4 separate regions of the Homo sapiens genome follow, and regions 2, 3 and 4 are each linked to region 1. The links are contacts of gene promoters, found by promoter capture Hi-C in blood cells and fetal thymus (Javierre and others, 2016). All regions are on one chromosome and are shown on one strand. The core of a region is centred on a gene start or on the middle of the fragment in contact, and the rest is flanking DNA. Distances in the headings are between cores, read along the strand shown. Region 1 holds the start of ZNF19 (zinc finger protein 19). Region 2 overlaps HYDIN (HYDIN axonemal central pair apparatus protein). Region 3 overlaps VAC14 (VAC14 component of PIKFYVE complex). Region 4 overlaps VAC14 (VAC14 component of PIKFYVE complex).

Region 1 (2,929 bases), core at 324-2,823:
GAGTCTTGGTTTTCTCTTACTCATGATTCATTCTGCGTTGAGTGCTTGTATTATCTGTCCCACTCTCCCTTATAGTAAGGGAGTATAATCATATATGTCCAACTCTTTATTCATCAAAAAATGATTATTGATCATGAACTGTGTTATAAACACTATTCTAGAAACTCAGGATACAGTCATGGACAAGATAGAAAAGCCTCTTTCTTGAGGAGTTTACACTCTGCAGAAAGCCTGAGGGTTGCTCTTGAAGACCTGGATCATGGTCCCATTTGTCTGGACTTGTGTTGCTGAAGTCCCAACTGAACAGCAAGTCCAACTAGTCATCCTGGAAGTCCTCAGCTCATGATGAGCTAGCTATTTTAGCACTCTGATCTTCTAAGAACCAACCCTGAACTGCCACCAGGCTTTGCTTATACTATCTAGTCTGGTAGTAAAAAGTGTACAGATGCCCAAACCCACTGAGGTTTATAACCATTTTCAAAGGTTTTAATAAAAAGATTGAATACTGGATTAACTCCAGAGCCTATTCAGGCTCAATTCCTAAGCTATTAATAATCGCTAATATCTAGTGAGTGTAATAATTACTAATATCTAGTGAGTGTTTAGTATGTGCTAGACATTGTACTGATTTACATGTACTAACATCTAATCCTCACAACAATCCGGGGAATAAATACTATTATTATCCTAGTTTTAGAAATAAATGTGACACTTACAGGTTAAGTAATGCACCAAAGGTCACAGAGTGGTCCTTTGGCCTTTGAAACAAAGCATCCTGATGCCAGGCTGTGCTCCTTACCACTATGTCATACTGTTGTAAAGGAGATGGGACTAAGAAGCTCTAAGTCCCCAGTTTGTTTTGTAATTCTGTGACAGTGATCACAAACGTTTTGACAGTCCAGCAAAATCCTGGCCAGAGTTCTCTTTTGTGGACCCAGAAAGCCACAGGCACTAACACTTTAGAGCTATCTCTCTTAGCCCATATGCCCTGCGCTTTTGGCATTTTCTTTATCATTTAGAGGGGAAGGAGGGCAAGGGTCTGAGGAGCCTTGAATGGTGACTTGGACTCCAGGGGTAGTGGCAAACCATTGGAGGTTACAGTGCATGGAATTAAAGACAGCTTGAATGGTATAATCTGACTGGCTCATTTTACAGAAGACAAAAGCTGCTCAGAGACACAAGGGTCTTCCTCAATGGCCCGTGAGTGGCAGAGCTTGTGAAAGGAAGTTGATTCACTGCGAGTGAACCAGAACTCAGAAAGACCAGTAAGCAACCAGGAAACACCGGCCACCATCTAGGCCTGTGGTGATGGCGGTTTTATCACGAATTCCTTCCTGACAATCAACTGCTCCCGGGCAGAAGCGATCGCTTTCTTGACCCACCCAAATGGACAATGACCCAGGCGTGAGGTTCCTGAGGAGAGAAAAAAGTGTGTACAAGGAAAGGAAGAGGATGTCTCCCAATCGGAAACACCGAGATGCGGAAAAGTTGCACCGTAGAAAGAGCAGCCGTGCTCATGACGCACTTCTGGCCTCCAAGCGCCCCACAAGCGTGACGCACTTCCGGCCTCCTAACCGTTCTCGCTAGCGGTGCGCTTCTGGCCTGTTTTGAGTCCGCGCTCAAAGGTGCCAAAGTGCAAGGACCCACAGTTGGGCGGAGCTTGGGTTGGGAGTGAGACAGCATAGCAGTCCAGGCTGGTCCTTTGAGCGCAGCTCAAAGAAGGGGACGGGGAGGGCGTCACTATACAATTGTGGCCGGGTGGGACCTGGGCTGTTTGCTCTTGGAGGCTGTACAGCTGCAAGCTTTGCCGCTCACGAACTGGAGCTGGAGAAAGAGCCCCCCAAGGATGGGAGGATGACAGAAGTGTCTGCAGATGGCACTGCCTGGGCACCAGGAGAGGCAAGGACTCCAGCTGATTCCTACCTCCTAGGGAAGCCATCCCCACTCTTAGTTGGGGCCGGCTTAAGTCTTTAACCAAGGCTCTTGCAGTTGCAGTGTCTGTTTCTTTTGAAGAGGCAGATTTGGAGACCTGTGTCCAAACAAATGCCATTGTCCCATAGTGTTTTTATGTTTTTGTTAGTTTGTTTTGGTTTTTTTGAGACGAAGTCTCGCTCTTGTCACCCAGGCTGGAGTGCAATGGCACCATCTCTACTCACTGCAACCTCCGCCTCCCGAGTTCAAGTGATTCTCCTGCCTCAGCCTCCCGAGTAGCTGGGATTACAGGTGCCTGCCACCACACCCGGCTAATTTTTGTATTTTTAGTAGAGACGGGGTTTCACCATGTTGGTCAGACGGGTCTCAAACTCCTGACCTCAGGCGATCCGCCTGTCTCGGCCTCCCAAAGTGCTGGGATTACAGGCGTGAGCCACTGTGACCAGTCTGAACTCACTTTTAATTTTAGGAGCTTGTTTTGTAGATTCTTTGGGACTTCTTATACAGATAATCATGTTGCCTGCAGATAGTAACAGTTTTGTTCTGAGTTTCGAATCTGTGTGTCTTTCATTTCATTTCTTTTTCTTTTTCTTTTTTTTTTTTTTTTGAGATAGTCTCGTTCTGTCACCCAGGCTGGAGTGCAGTGGCATATTCTCAGCTTACTGCATCCTCCACCTCCCGGGTTCAAGCAATTCTCATGTCTCAGCCTCCTGAGTAGCTGGGATTACAGGCACACACCACCACACCTGGCTCATTTTTATATTTTTAGTAGAGATGCGATTTCTCCATGTTGGCCAGGCTGGTCTTGAACTCCTGGCCTCAAGCAATCCATCCACCTTGGCCTCCCAAAGTGCTGGGATTACAGGTGTGAGCCACTGTGTCTGACCTATGTGCCTTTTATTTCTTTTTCTGGCCTTGCTCTTGCTAAGACTCCCAATATGATGTTAAATAGTAGTGGTAAGAGCAGACATACCTGCCATGTTCCCAATCTTGGAGG
Region 2 (3,058 bases), core at 542-3,041, 680 kb after region 1:
GGTGACACCTGCCTCAGAGGCCTGAATCTAGCCTGGAAACTCCCAGCTAGAAACAAACAGCACCAGGCCTGGGTTCTTCCATTACAGACTTTCTGTCTTAACAAGCTGTGATGGAGTGTAGGGGAGTTTTGTTTCACACAGCACGCCCAGTGATCCACAGAGGGAGACAGTATAGCTTAGTAGTCATGGTATCGGCTGTGGAATCAAACAGACATGGGTTTGAGTCCTGGCTTCACCACTTACTCTTTGTATGAATAATTTGCTTAAGCTCTCTAAGCTTATTTATAAATGGGGATAATACCCCCAACCTTGCAGGATTGCTATAAGGATTTTAAATATGTATCTAAAGCCATTTTCTTAGAGCCTAGCCTATAGTAAGTGCTCCATATACATTAGCTGTTACATCAGTTGGAATATAGGTTCAACTACTAAAACAGAAACCCAAAGCTAGACACAGTGGTTCACATCTGCAATCCTAGCACTTTGGGAGGCTCAGGTGGGAAGATCGCTATAGCCAGGAGTTGAAGACCAGCCTGGGCAACATAGCGAGACCTCATCTCTATTTAAAAACATAAAATAAAATTCTAAAAAACAGAAACCACAAATAACAGCAAATTAGGTGTTGGTTTCTCTCACAAATAACAGTCTGGGCATAAGCAGTTTGAGCTGGAATGGCAGCTCGCTGACACCAGGCACCCAGACATCTTCTGTCCCGATGCTCTGCCCTCTGAAGGGAGCTGTTTTGGTCCACGTGGGCCAAGATGGTTTATCAGGACATCCACATTCCAGCCAGCTACAAGGGAAGAGGGGACAGTTGTATATATCACCTCTACTAATATTCCATGGAACAAAACTTCACAGGACCACACCTATCAACAAAGGAGCTAGGAAAGGTAGCTTTTGTACTGGGCAGTCACATGCCCAGGTAAAATCAGAGATCTTGTGGCTGTAGCCAAGAGGCAGAGGCTCTTGATCAGTTGTATCAGCCAAGAGATGCTAGGTTAGGTGCAGTAGCAATCACAGGGGCTTAAGATGAAGGCTTGTTTCTCATTTGAGCAATTTTCCAGAGAGGCCAGCAGGGGACCCTGCTCATCTCAGTCTCTTGGGATTCAAGCACCATCTCAAATATTTCCAGTACAGTATTAGAGTGGTGAAAGGACCCTGACAGGAGTTAAATTGGCAATGAAAGGCTCTAGCATGGAAGTGACACCTTTCACTTCTGCTCACAGCTAGTTGTCTGGAACTAGCACCACCCATCTGCAAGGAACCAGAATGTTTGGTCTTCCATGTACATGGAAGGAAAGAACCGAATATAGGGGATCAGCATCCATGACTGCCCTATTAACGTAATGTGGCTGTGTGTCTCAGTACACATTATTAACATCTCTTTGCCTTTGTTTCTTTGTAGCAAAATAGAAATAATAATTAGTAATACCTACCCTACAAGGGAGTTATAAGGACACAACTTTATAACATTCCCAGTCTCACACAGACATAGTTGCTTGATGTCCAGGAGTGGAGGGGCTGGGGTAGACTTGAGCTCCTGGTGTGCTCTTCAGGATCTCACGTGAGCTGAGTTTGTTTGTTCCCCTTTCAGACCGACTGTACAGACTTCCACGCAGAAAAACTCATTAATGCAGCCCCAGGAGGCCAGGGAGGCACTGAAGCCAGTGTGGAAGTCTTATTCGAGCCCAGCCACCTGGGTGAGACCAAGGGCATCCTGATCCTATCATCGCTCGCAGGTGGAGAGTATATCATCCCCCTCTTTGGAATGGCTCTGCCTCCCAAGCCCCAAGGTCCCTTCTCGATCCGAGCCGGGTACAGCATAATCATCCCCTTCAAGAATGTCTTCTATCACATGGTGACCTTCTCCATCATCGTGGATAACCCAGCCTTCACCATTCGCGCTGGAGAGTCTGTGCGGCCCAAGAAGATCAACAACATCACAGTCTCCTTTGAAGGAAACCCATCTGGCAGCAAAACCCCCATCACCACCAAGCTGACTGTGAGCTGCCCTCCTGGTGAAGGGAGTGAGACTGGAGTTAAATGGGTTTATTATCTGAAGGGGATCACCCTTTAGTGGTAACCAGGGTTACCTGTATCAACCAAAAGCTATGCATTGTCTTAGCCTGAAAAAGAATAGAGAAAACAATAAGAATTCTAAAGGAACTGTTTTTATTCTTCTCATACAATTATAGGGCAGTTATTTCCCTATTATGTGTTTTCCAAATATAGATATGAAATATCTATTCCATATTAAACATTATAACTACACACAACAGCTCTATATTTTAGACAACTGAATCCTTGTGAGTCCCTAAATTGAGTTTCTTGACATAGCCCCAAAGCTCAAGTACTTTGTAATAATTCCCATTTTTATCAAGAAGGCACAGGTATCACACTAGTGACCTTCTACTCTACAACACTTAGCAATGCGTGACGCTGGGTACTGCAGTTTCTTTTTAAAATCCAAAATGGTTTAAAAAGCCCTTAGACATGACTATTTTGATGTGGCATTTTATTCTGCTTTCACATAAAAGCCAAATAAATATTTTCAGAGGGATGAGCAGATAACATTAGGGCAATCCAGGGACACTCCCATCACTTTTTCTCTTGGCTTTTATACCATCAGTGTCCGAATCCCACATCTGCCCTACACAGAAAGTTCTCACTGAAGTCTAGGCCCTGGAGAAAGGCTAATAGAGATCCCAGCTCCCCCCACCACACATACACACCCCGCCTTGGATAGCATTCAGCAGGAGAGCAGGGATTCTCAACCCATCTGCACATCAGGACCACCTAACTCTCACTCTGAACGTGCCCAGTCCCCATCTGATGTAATTGGTCTGGAGAGGGGTGTGGGCATCTTTATTATATACATTTAACTTGTATAGCAGATGGTTAAAGTCTGGCCCTGGCATGGGTTTGCTTCTGCAGACATACACCTCTGACGGAGGGTCCCCCTGCCTCTACCTGCTCCCCACACTCATCCCCCACAGCCCTCCTACAAGAGGGGCAGGAGACTGGAAGAAGATGGCCTCTTGGGAATGAATGCCGT
Region 3 (2,938 bases), core at 1-2,500, 700 kb after region 1:
CAGGACTCAGGGCTCTACCTGAAGGAGCTGATCGAGCCAGTGCTGACCTGCTTCAATGATGCAGACAGCAGGCTGCGCTACTATGCCTGCGAGGCCCTCTACAACATCGTCAAGGTGGCCCGGGGCGCTGTGCTGCCCCACTTCAACGTGCTCTTTGACGGGCTGAGCAAGGTAACCGCCCTCCTCCTCCTCCTCACTGAGCTGCGCTTGGTTCCCCCACCTCACTTGACCTTCTGGAACCTTGGACCCCTTTTCCCAGATGCAAGCAGAGCAAACAAGCATGTGGCTGCAAGGGACACTTACTGTCTGTTGAATCTAATCATTTTTAATGGACTTGCATTTATACCTTTTTTCATTTCTCTTTTAATTCATTTTGATTGCATTTGATATAAGTATCAGTCTGCCATACAGTAGAGGGAAGAAGCTGATAGTCTGTGAAACACTCGCCTCCCTGGTAGAAGGGGATGATGCTGACGCCATCATCCAGACCGTACTTTCCCTTTAGGGAGGGCTGCACTTAGTCTAGCTCATAAGTGCCCTAGAAAAAGCTCATGCTCTCCTCCGTGCCTCTTGCAGCCTGGTGGAGTTCCCTTCCCAGGCGCGGAGCAGCCCTGCAATGCTGCTGCCCCTGCAGAATGCCACGGAAGTTTCTAGAGTATCAGCCTCGCAGCTACCCTGTCCCCTCCTCCAGGAGTGGAACAAGGACCCAGCGCTTTAAGATTGGAAACCCCTGGGGAAGGCTGACGGGAAGCAACCCCGTGACCCAGTCACAACAGGGAACAGGAACCCCAGCGGGTCATGGGAGAAGTCCCTGAACAGAAGGGTATTTCCTGAATCTGCTCCTCAGCCAACTCCATTGTACCCACTCCCACTTTCCCAGCCTTTCTCAAATGTGTTCACCGAAAGGGTGATGTTCTTGCTAGATGTTCTGGGCTGCACCAAGGCCTCGGCTGCGGATTTGCAGGAAATCCCTGGTCTTGCATCCAACCGTGACCCTCGCCTCTGTGTCCCTCCCCTGTCTGTGCCTCTTGCAGCTGGCAGCCGACCCAGACCCCAATGTGAAAAGCGGATCTGAGCTCCTAGACCGCCTTTTAAAGGTATTTGTACTTTGTCCCCACTTTTATTTCTACAATCTGTTTCTCCCGTCTGTCTGTAAAGCTTAGAAATTCTGTCATTGGGAATGTTCTTCTTGAATTTAAAATATATTTTAAATTTACATGTACTCCCTGGTGTGCAGTTCTATGACAAGAATATCGAGCTCAATCACCACTATCAAATACAGAACTGTGCCATCACCCAAAATGTCCCCTTTTGTTGCCGCCACCTAGAGCAAAGAAGCTTGCCTGTCACTTTCCACACCTCTCTGGCCCTGACAGCAGGGGCCTGGGCATTCCATCCAGACCACAGAGAGTAGGGTCTTGCCATTCAGTTGGTTCTCTCGACTTTGCTTCCTGCTTTCAATCTACCCGTTTTTCGTATCCCGTGGACTGGGACAGGATGAATACTCCAGAGACCTCTTATGCCTAGCTCAGGATCTGCCATTTTCCTTGGTGGCCGCCTGAGCGCTGGAGCCAGCCCTGGGCAAGTGATTCAGCGAGGTCAGGCAGCCCTGGTCTCGGGCTCTCGGCAGCTCACTTTCCTCTGATCCACAGGACATTGTGACTGAGAGCAACAAGTTTGACCTGGTGAGCTTCATCCCCTTGTTGCGAGAGAGGATTTACTCCAACAACCAGTATGCCCGGCAGTTCATCATCTCCTGGGTAAGGCCTGGCCGGACACCGTTTCTCCAGCCTCCAGTTTGGAAAATCTGCTCTCTAGCACACTCTTGTCAGGCCCTTTGGCTATAGGAACCCTCCATGTTCTCCCTTGAATAGCCATTAACACCTGATAATTCAAAAACACCTTATTCAGCTTTGCCCCCGAAACCCACCATGTTGGCCCTGAAGGGATCAGGTTCTTGTTGCCCTGGAAGGGAGTCCAGTTCTTTCCTTGTCCCAGAAAACACCTGAGTTTCCTTTAAAGCCAGCAGTGCTACTTCCAGCAATCTCACTTTTTCTAGCCTTTTCTGTCCTTCCCCATCCATCCCCTTCTCCCCTGGGCATCCGAATTTCCTTAGAGTCAAATTGCCATTCCCCTGCACATTAAACAAGAAATGCTGACTGTCCTTGCCAGCACCCTCCTCCCACATGGGACACCTGCACTGCAGGGAAATGCTGTCTCAGCAGGGTCCCCTTCCTACAGCCCAGTCCCAGAGGCTTGGTGAGCAGGAAACAGGGTTCTGGAGCTGACTTCCCCTCCTGTTCCCTTCCCCTGGTCAGATCCTGGTTCTGGAGTCGGTGCCAGACATTAACCTGCTGGATTACCTGCCGGAGATCCTGGATGGACTCTTCCAGATCCTGGGTGACAATGGCAAAGAGATTCGCAAAATGTGAGTGGAGTAAGGGGCAGGAAGCTGCTGCCTCCTGCCACCCCCAGCTGTGCCCATGTGCTTCATGCCCACAGAGAGGCCGCGGCAGGAGGGCAGGAAATCACCTCTTCTTCCTGGCTCTTGTGCTTCCCGCTTTGAGGAGCCAAGAGCCCATCAACCCCCAGCATCTGAAAATGATCACCTGACAAGTCCAAAAGCCAAGCCGCCCTCTGGGTGGCTGACCCAGCACGGAAATGGGGCTGGTTTGAGGCTCCTCCAGCCCTGGCTGACCCTCGCTGTTTCCACTTTCCTGTTCTTGTTCATAGGTGTGAGGTTGTTCTTGGAGAATTCTTAAAAGAAATTAAGAAGAACCCCTCCAGTGTGAAGTTTGCTGAGATGGCCAACATCCTGGTGATCCACTGCCAGACAACAGGTGAGTATTGGGGGAGGGCCCACAGCCACGGCTGCCACTGCTGCTGCCACTGCCACCTCTGCAGAAGCCCCTTTCACCATCTCAGCTTCAGTGAGGGG
Region 4 (3,096 bases), core at 519-3,018, 790 kb after region 1:
ACAGGGTCTGCGAAGGAGCTGTCAGCATTTCCTTTGTGACGGCTCGTTCCCAGCCGGGGTGCTAAGCTGGCTCTGGCTGCCCCCGACTGAAGGCCCCTGGGACTTAGACCTGTGGCCCTTCCCTCAGGTCCCCACGTGGACCGGGTAGGGGCAAGGAGCAGGCGTGTCCTCACGGCTCATGCCTGTTCCCCCACAGGAGAGCCAGAACCTGTTCTGCTGCCTGTACCGCTCCTGGTGCCACAACCCAGTCACCACGGTGTCCCTCTGCTTCCTCACCCAGAACTACCGGCACGCCTATGACCTCATCCAGAAGTTGTATCCTTCCTCTCACTGTGGTTGGGGTTGAGCCTCTGAGGGGCAGGAAGGGGCCGGCTGCCCCCTTTCCACCCAACAGGCGGGCCCAAGTGCCATGCTCCTGTCCCCACCCCTCCACTCAGCCTCAGGGCTTGTGACATCAGGGCTGCCAGGACACTGGGAGGGGAGGGACGTATTTGGGAGAGCGAGATTGGCAGCAAAGAGGGGCTCTTGGAGGGGGAGCTGGCCCGGGAGAAACCCTGTGGGTTGGGATTGGGACTGAGTAGGCCCAGCCCGGCAGGTGCCAGCGGGTGATGCTGGACCATCTTGCTGGGGTGGGAGAGAACCCCAGCTCCTGCCCCTGGGAGAAGGTGGCTGCCCTCTGCTCATTGTAGTTCCTCCTGGGCCTGGTGTGGGGGTGGGGGAGAAGGCCTGGAGCTGGGAATATGGGTGGATGGCTGGGTGAGCCTGCAGGCTTCAGCCCAGGCGTGGGCCTTCGGGGGCCACAGAGCTAGAGCCCGACAGGCTTGAGGATGACACACTGGGGAGAAGCAGGCTGGGCAGAGGCCTCAGAAGCAGGAGGCACCCATTCTCACCTCAGCACTGCGCTCATCAAAAGGCATCCAGAGTTAGATGTTTTGTTTTTTGAGGTGGAGTCTTGCTTTGTCACCCAAGCTGGAGTGCAGTGGGGCGATCTTGGCCCATTGCAACCTCCGCCTCCTGGGTTTAAGTGATTCTCCTGCCTCAGCCTCCCAGGTAGCTGGGATTACAGGCGTTCACCACCATGCCCGGCTAATTTTTGTATTTTTAGTAGAGACAGGGTCTCACCATGTTGGCCAGGCTAGTCTCAAACTCCTGACCTCAAGCGATCTGCCCATCTCGGCCTCCCAAAGTGCTGGGATTACAGGTGTGAGCCACCGCGCCTGGCCAGATTTTTTTTAAAACACCAGTAAGCAAACTAGCCCCATCCATGGGTGCCTGACATGTAACCCAGGATTGGAGTGCTATTTAGAAGGCAACATGACCAGCCAGGAGTTGGGAGTAAGGAAGAAGGGACCAGGAGGTGCCTCAGTGGAGGGCTAGGTGTGGCCCTGCCTGGCTCCCCACAGTGTGCCTGCTTCCCTTCTACAACCTGGATTTGCTCCTCTCAGCCACTTCTGTCACCCAGAGACTGGCAGGCCACTGCCCAGTGCCGCAAGCTTGCTGCAGCCCTGCTGGCAGGAAAGGAGAGAACCCTTCCTGCCCAGCCCTCCCCCAACGGGCTGCAGCGCTGTGATAAGAGCCTCTCCCAGCCCGGGAGGGTGCAGAGGAGACAGCTGCTAGAGTGGAACCTGGAACTCCTGAACAGGGGAGTTCCATTTAGGACAGAAAGGCGAGGAACAGGGAAGAGCCTGGTGTCCTTTGTGCGCCAAATCCTGCTTCACCACAACCAGGCTCTGTGCACAGGAAGCCAGGTGCAGGGGGGGAGGGCGTGTGGTGCTGTGAGCTGCGGCTGTGCTGGCCCAGCAGACAGACTTTCCTTGACTGCACACCCAGTGGGGACCTGGAGGTCACCGTGGACTTCCTCGCAGAGGTGGACAAGCTGGTGCAGCTGATTGAGTGCCCCATCTTCACATGTAAGAACCACCTCCCACCACACCTCGCGCCATGAGTCCAAGGCTGCCCTGGAGTGGGGTGGGTGAAGTCAAGCTCCAGTTGGTCTCTTTTGGCTGGGGAGGGAGGAAGAGCAGTCACCCCAGGGAAGCTTCTGGAATGTTGAGAATGTGAGACTTATAATCCCAGCACTTTGGAGGCTGAGGCTGGAGCATCTCTTAACGGCAGGAGTTCGAGACCAGCCTGGGCACCATAGTGAGATCTCATCTGCACAAAATTTTTTAAAAATTAGCCAGGCATGAGAGTGCATGCCTATAGTCACCACTACTCAGAAGGCTGAGGTAGGAGGATCACTTGAGCCCAGGAGGTTGAGACTACAGTGATCTGTGACTGTACCACTGCACTCCAGCCTGGGTGACAGAGCAAGACCCTGCCTCAGAAAAAAAAAAAAAAAAAAGACTGGGATGATAGGCCTGCAAGGCCAGCCAGAGCAGGGCTGGGGCACGTGGCATCAGAACCTGGATCCTGCCTGTATCCCTCACAGTGAGTCTCCTGGACATGAGCCAGCGCTGACAGCAGAACCCCCTTGAAGGCTGATACCAGGCCCCTGGGCTGTCCCCAGCCACCCCTCCGGGTCTGCTGCCTCTGCTCTGGCTCTCTGAAGTTGTGGGTCCCGAGTCCCTCTGCAGGTGCTCCTGTTGGCCCAAGAGCCATGCCTGTACCTCTCTGAAAGAAGAGTTGGCATTTGCTGGGAGCCAGTGGGCAGGAGCTGCCTGCTTAGTAACACCCAGGCTGAATGTGCAAAAGTGGCAGCTGGCTGGGGCGAGCACAGCTCTCAGCACCTCAACATACACACTTTGAATGACGCTTATGTGCTTATAATGTGCAGAGAAGCCAGGAGGCCACTCTGCTGGTGGCCACCTTCCCTGCCAAGCTGGCCACCCGGCCTCTCCCACTCTCTGGCAGCGTCTCTGACCCGCCCGGCCTAAGCCCATCAGCCTGAGCCCTGGAGCCTGAATTGAATGCAGGGGCTGAAGAACACCCGTTCCCATCCCCTCCTGAGCCCCCTTCAAAGGGCAGCCTCATCAAGCAGCAGGGTGCCGTAGGAACTGATGCCCTGGAGACAGAAGAGCAGGGGGGAGACCCTGCTCTCCGCAGAGTGCGCTAAAGCCTGTCCCAGGTGTGCCCAGCGTGACACTTCCCCGAGGG

The links. Contacts are between HindIII fragments. The CHiCAGO score rates a contact against its expected background, and 5 or more counts as called.
Region 2: a contact is called between a fragment that was not itself captured here and the fragment with the promoter of ZNF19 in region 1, in 1 of 17 cell types (megakaryocytes). The highest score is 5.8, in megakaryocytes.
Region 3: a contact is called between a fragment that was not itself captured here and the fragment with the promoter of ZNF19 in region 1, in 2 of 17 cell types (endothelial precursors and megakaryocytes). The highest score is 6.0, in endothelial precursors.
Region 4: a fragment that was not itself captured here is called in contact with the fragment with the promoter of ZNF19 in region 1 in 1 of 17 cell types (erythroblasts); the score reaches 16.8 in erythroblasts.

Annotation. Positions count from the first base shown.
Region 1 is chr16:71,487,968-71,490,896 of GRCh38, reverse strand. It overlaps ZNF19 (zinc finger protein 19), which reads left to right and starts at 1,573. Exons shown (of 6, transcript NM_006961.4): 1 at 1,573-1,625. The HindIII fragment of the contact is 1,961 bases long and covers 1-1,804 here.
Region 2 is chr16:70,806,602-70,809,659 of GRCh38, reverse strand. It overlaps HYDIN (HYDIN axonemal central pair apparatus protein), which reads left to right. Exons shown (of 86, transcript NM_001270974.2): 86 at 1,598-3,058. The coding sequence ends at 2,080. Among named protein-coding and RNA genes, the nearest start is that of VAC14, 7.0 kb to the right of the region's middle. The HindIII fragment of the contact is 3,024 bases long and covers 280-3,058 here.
Region 3 is chr16:70,782,935-70,785,872 of GRCh38, reverse strand. VAC14 (VAC14 component of PIKFYVE complex) reads left to right here. Exons shown (of 19, transcript NM_018052.5): 3 at 4-171; 4 at 1,035-1,097; 5 at 1,653-1,760; 6 at 2,319-2,428; 7 at 2,734-2,840. Among named protein-coding and RNA genes, the nearest start is that of TRG-GCC2-5, 5.1 kb to the left of the region's middle. The HindIII fragment of the contact is 180 bases long and covers 1,161-1,340 here.
Region 4 is chr16:70,694,358-70,697,453 of GRCh38, reverse strand. It overlaps VAC14 (VAC14 component of PIKFYVE complex), which reads left to right. Exons shown (of 19, transcript NM_018052.5): 16 at 197-315; 17 at 1,831-1,910. Among named protein-coding and RNA genes, the nearest start is that of MTSS2, 9.9 kb to the right of the region's middle. RefSeq lists enhancers at 1-309, 1,136-1,962, 1,963-2,788, 2,789-3,096. The HindIII fragment of the contact is 545 bases long and covers 1,496-2,040 here.